2 separate regions of the Homo sapiens genome follow, and region 1 is linked to region 2. The links are contacts of gene promoters, found by promoter capture Hi-C in human tissues and cell types (Jung and others, 2019). All regions are on one chromosome and are shown on one strand. The core of a region is centred on a gene start or on the middle of the fragment in contact, and the rest is flanking DNA. Distances in the headings are between cores, read along the strand shown. Region 1 overlaps PPP6R2 (protein phosphatase 6 regulatory subunit 2). Region 2 holds the start of SCO2 (synthesis of cytochrome C oxidase 2).

What was found. The method cuts DNA at HindIII sites, captures the fragments that hold promoters and counts their contacts. A contact is called where the count stands out against the background at its distance.
Region 1: a fragment that was not itself captured here is called in contact with the fragment with the promoter of SCO2 in region 2 in 1 of the 25 tissues and cell types used here (hippocampus).

What each region holds. Positions count from the first base shown.
Region 1 is chr22:50,353,355-50,356,054 of GRCh38, forward strand. The region is part of intron 1 of PPP6R2 (protein phosphatase 6 regulatory subunit 2); the gene reads left to right. Among named protein-coding and RNA genes, the nearest start is that of PPP6R2, 11 kb to the left of the region's middle. The HindIII fragment of the contact is 4,805 bases long and covers 1-2,700 here.
Region 2 is chr22:50,524,348-50,527,047 of GRCh38, forward strand. SCO2 (synthesis of cytochrome C oxidase 2) reads right to left here and starts at 1,251. Exons shown (of 2, transcript NM_005138.3): 1 at 1,125-1,251; 2 at 1-77. The coding sequence starts at 64. NCAPH2 (non-SMC condensin II complex subunit H2) reads left to right here. Exons shown (of 20, transcript NM_152299.4): 20 at 1-433. TYMP (thymidine phosphorylase) reads right to left here. Exons shown (of 10, transcript NM_001953.5): 7 at 2,229-2,391; 8 at 1,899-2,129; 9 at 1,654-1,794; 10 at 1,405-1,571. The coding sequence ends at 1,423. RefSeq lists silencers at 923-1,222, 1,433-2,262 and enhancers at 2,353-2,652, 2,461-2,700. The HindIII fragment of the contact is 20,776 bases long and covers 403-2,700 here.

The DNA of each region.
Region 1 (2,700 bases), core at 144-2,643, 170 kb before region 2:
AGTAGGGAGCCCTGAGGAGAGGGGGAGAGACTCAGGGAAATGGCCGGTCAGAACTTACGCAGCGTTTATTAAGTTTGCTATCCTATATGGGCACGGTTTGTAGTTTCCCAAAACAATTAAAATAGTAACATCAAACATCACCGATAACAGGTCACCATAACAGATAAAATAATAATGAAAGAGTTTGAAATATTGTGAGAATTACCAGAATGCAACACAGAGACACGAAGTAAGCACATGCTGTTGGAAAAATGGCACCCCTCGACGTGCTTGACGCAAGGTTGCTACCAGCCTTTAATTTGTAGAAAGCACATTACCTGCGAAGCACAATGAAGGGAAGCACGTTAGACAAAGTACGCCTGTGTTGTTTTCCATTTCACAGATGAGGAAATGGAAATAAACAGCAAGTAGATGATAGAGGCAAGATTTGTACCCCAGGTAGTGTGACTCAAAAGCCTCTCCCTTTTTTTTTTTTTTTGTTAAGGGAAAGGCTAACTTTTAAAAATATTTTTAAAAAATTTTAATAGATTCCCTAGAAGAATAGAGGAAGAACAAAGAAAATTAAAAGAATACATTTTGGAATTGTAACGATAACTGATTATGTATCAGGCATTTGTGTGTTCTTGTTTATGTTCCAATACAATTTTATTTAGAAAAGCTGACTGGGAGGCCGGGCGCGGTGGCTCATGCCTGTAATCTCAGCACTTTTGGAGGCCGAGGTGGGCGGATCACCTGGGGTCCGGAGTTTGAGACCACCGTGGCCAACATGGTGAAACCCTGTCTCTACTAAAAATACAAAAATTAGCCGGGCATGGTGGCACGTGGCTGTAATTCCAGCTACTCAGGAGGCTGAGGCAGGAGAATCACTTGAACCCAGAAGGTGGAGATTGTAGTGAGCCAAGATCATGCCACTGCACTCCAGCCTGGGCGACGGAGCGAGACTTTGTCTCAAAATAAATAAATAATAAATAAAATAAAATGCCTGGGACTAGAGATGTTTTGGATTTCAAATTTTCTCAGAGTTACCAGTTGAGCTTCCCCAATAAGGAATCTGAAATGCTCCAGTGAGCATGTCCTTTGAGCATCATGTAGATGCTCAACAAGTTTTGGATTGGAGTGCTTTTTTTATTTTTATTTTTTGGCTAGTCAAGTGAAGCACTGGGAGTGGAAAAGGAACACAAACATTTGTAGGTGGGCACGGCGCCTCACACCTGTAATCCCAGCACTTTGGGAGGCTGAGGTGGGTGGATCACCTGAGGTCCGGAGTTTGAGACCAGGCTGGCCAACATGGTTAAACCCTGTCTGTACTAAAAATACAAAAATTAGCCGGGCATGGTGGCAAGCGCCTGTAATCGCAGCTACTCAGGAGGCTGAGGCAGGGGTTGCAGTGAACCGAGATCATGCTACTGCACTCCAGCCTGGATGACAGTGAGACTCTCTCTCGTACACGTACATACAAATCTGTAACTGGTTGTGATCAATTAGTTGTAAAAGCTGCTGCACCTGGATCAGCCTTTTTTTTTTTTTTTTTTGAGACAGTCTCATTCTGTGTCACCTAGGTTGAGTGCAGTGGCACAGTCACAGCTCACCACAGCCTTGACCTGCCAGGCTCCTGAGTAGCTGAGACTACAGGTGCCTGCCACCATGCCTGGCTAATTTTTTATTTTTTGTGGAGACAGGGCCTTGCTCTATTGCCCAGGCTGATCCTGAACTCCTGGACTTAAGCGATCCTCCCACCTCAGCCTCCCAAAGTACTGGGACTACAGGCGTGAGCCACTTTGCCTGGCCCAGGATTTCAATTTCACGATTTTTGGTTTAGGGATACTCCTCCTATATTGGAAATCCTGTTATATCCACATACAGCAAGCAGCCTTCTTTTTTTTTTTTTTTTTTTCTTTTTTGAGACAGAGTCTCGCTCTGTAGCCTAGGCTGGAGTGCAGCGGCGTGATCTCGGCTCACTGCAAGCTCCGCCTCCCAGGTTCATGCCATTCTCCTGCCTCAGCCTCTCCGAGTAGCTGGGACTGCAGGTACCTGCCACCACGCCCGGCTAATTTTTTGTATTTTTAGTAGAGAAGGGGTTTCACTGTGGTCTCGATCTCCTAACCTCGTGATCGGCCGCCCGCCTTGGCCTTCCAAAGTGCTGGGATTACAAGCGTGAGCCACTGCGCCCGGCCTTTTTTTTTTGAGATAGAGTCTCGCTCTGTCGCCCAGGCTGGAGTGCAGTGGTGCGATCTTGGCTCACTGCAAGCTCCGCCTCCTGGATTCACGCCATTCTCCTGCCTCAGCCTCCTGAGTACCTGGGACTACAGGTGCCCGCCACCACACCCAGCTAATTTTTTTCTATTTTTAGTAGAGACGGGGTTTCACTGTGTTAGCCAGGATGGTCTCGATCTCCTTACCTCATGATCCGCCCGCCTCGGCCTCCCAAATTGCTGGGATTACAGGGGTGAGCCACTGCGCCTGGCACAGCCTTATTCTTTAAAATGGAAAAAAAAAAACCAAAAAAAAAGCTTTTAAAAATTTTTCTCTTTTAAAAAGTGTACACATAACACATAATTGTATATATTTATGGGGTACATAGTGATGTTTTAATACCTATAGTGTATTTCCCTCTTTTTTTTTTTTTGAGACGGAGTCTCGCTCTGTCACTCAGGCTGGAGTGCAGTGGCGCGATCTCGGCTCACTGCAAGCTCCGCCTCC
Region 2 (2,700 bases), core at 1-2,500:
GGACCCGAGGCTTGAGCTGAGAGAGCCTGTGCCAAGCTGTGGGGCTCCGAGTCAGCAGCAGCATGGATCTGATGCTCCTGGAAACAAGCACAGGCGTCAGGAGCCAGAAGGGAAGGCCCAGGACAGTGCCTGGGCTGCCCCTGCGACTTGAGACCAGCCACCCATCTGAAGGACCCAGCCCACGTTCAGGCTTAACAGGCATTTGCAGCTGCTCACCTGAGCTCAGAACTCCACCTCCACCAAACATCCACACCTGGGCAACCACACCTGTCACTCCTGTCCTCTACCTGGGATCACCAGCCTGTCACCGCACCCTGCCCTGCACCTGCACCTCAGCAAGGTGAACCTCTTGCTGACGGAAAGCATTCCAAGTGCATGCCTTGCCTGAACTAACCACGTTATCTATTTGCAATAAACCCATTTCTTAAAAGGAGGTGGGTAACTCTCTGGCTTGCAATCCCCGAGAGCAACCGATTCCTCCAACACTTTCCTGTTACCTCCAGCCACTTCAACCAACCGCGGCCTTCCTCCACACTCCCAGCAGAAAACCTGCACGACCTACCCCCGGAGCTCAGACTCTGCCCGCCGGCTGTGTTTAACCTCTCCTGGCAGAGACGCACGACACTTCCACCCGCCACAAAACCCCACCCTCCTCACATCCAGGCTTCCCAGCAGCTCCTCCGGGCTCACAGCCGACGCCCTGCCTTTGCGTTGGTGACCTTTGAGCCTTTCCCACGGGCCCCCGCAGAAGGTTTGCTAGGTGGAGGTCTCAGGACTCCCGGTCACTGCCCCCTCCTGCTGAGGGCACCCTCCCGAGGACTCACTGCACCCCCGCCCGGGCGGTTCTGGGTTTGTGCCCTCCCCAGCAAGGCCAGCGCCCTCGTGGCCAGAAAGGTTCCAGGACCACTCGAAGCGCCGCGCGAGCGCGTTATAACTGTGCTTGGCCGCGAGAACACCGGTGCCTGCTGGGAGCCTCCCACGGGCGCCCCAGCCTCGCTCCGGCCTCCAGCGCGCCCTGGGGTGTGCCCCGCCAGCCCCGCGCAGTAGCCGGAGCTGGGAAACTACCCCGGAGTCCAGCGAGTCCTCAGGGCTACCTCCTCCCCTCCCAGCCCCGGCGTCCGCACCTCGCGGCGGGGCCGCGCGTCAGTGGACCAAGCACGAGAGGAAGCGCCGACCTCCAGCTCCCTGCGCTCTGCCCCGCCGGCTCAGGGAAAGCGGGCGCCACACGCTCACAGGCAGGGCGCAGGCGTCCCCGGAGCTGCGCATGCGCACACGGGCGCAGCCGCTGACAGGCTCTCAGCGCGTGCGCGGAAGGCGGAGCCCGCCGGGGGTCACGTGTTCATCGAGACGGCCCCCGCCTCCGCAGCCCTGGATCCTTCCGCTCCCGCCCAAGCACTGACAAGGTTTCGCGGCAAAGGAGCTTTATTGCTGCGGCGGCAGAACGAGCTCTGCGAAGGGCGAGGGGGCGGCGAATGGCGCGCGGTCGGAGAGTACGAGCGCCTCCTGCAGGGCGCGGCTCTGCGGGCCGCTGAGCGCGGGGCCGTCCCGGTGCACGCGGAGCCAGGGGGTCCCTGCAGAGCGAGGGGCTGTTAGAGGCCGCGCGGCCGGAGCTGGGCGGGGGTGCGGGGCCAGCAGGGCGGGGGCGGCGCTCACCACGGCGCAGCCTCTGACCCACGTCGACCAGCAGCTCTGCGCCCACCCCCAGGCGGAGCGGCTCCCCAGCGCGGCTGCGCCCGGCCCCGAGCTCGTGCAGCACCAGCGCCAGCGGCAGCGCCCGGACCAGCTCCACGGTGCCTGCGGGGAGAGGGGCTGAGAGGCGCGGGCTCGGGAAGGGGCGGGGCCTCGGGAAGGGAAGGGGATGGCGGAGGCGGAAGGACGGGGACTCCCCCGACGCTCACCATCTGCGGGCGCCAGCAGCTCCTCCTGCTCCCGGGCGCGAGGCAGCAGCTGCCGGCGTTCTGCGGGACTTCCCGAGCACAGGGCTCGGGCCAGACCGGGATCCACGCCCTGCGCCGCCAGCATCCGCTCGAAGCGGCCAAGGGCCGAGCCGTCGTCCAGCGCCGCGGCCACCCGGGCAGCGCCCTGGGCCTGAGTCCCCGCGTGTCCGCTGAGCCAGAGCAGGGCGCCCCCTGCGGGCGGGGACGGGTCTTAGGCGCGGCCGGGTCGGGGCGGCCCCAGCGGGAAGCACCCCCCGCCGCCTCCGCTCCCCTACACCCCGTCCCCCTCACCGAGCGTGGTGACCAGGTCCCTTAAGTCTGGCGGGCCTGCGCCGTCCATGCAGAGCAGCGCCTCCTCCACCTCCAGGGCGTGGCCCACGCAGCGACCCAGGGGCTTGTCCATGGCGGTCAGCGCTGCCGCGACCCGAAGCCCTAGGCTGGCTCCCACGCCAACCTGCGGAGAGGAGGCTCAGCGTGGACCCCCCATGGCGGGGCCTTCTGCAGCCGGTTCTTGGTCGAACTCCAGCCCCTGCTGCACCCTGGGTTGCCAGCCCCCCAGCATGAAGTCAGGGAAGGATTGGGGTGGGGAAGAGACACGAGTGAAGTGCGACACCTCGCCATGGGGCCAGGAGGAACTTGTACTTGGTCTGGGGCAGGAACGCCACAGAGGGCTTCCCCAGGTCCAGGCCGGGCCAGCCTTGACCTCTAAAGTCACAGCAGGTTAGGAAGCCGTGAAGGAGGGAGGGACTTCGGGCAGAAGAGG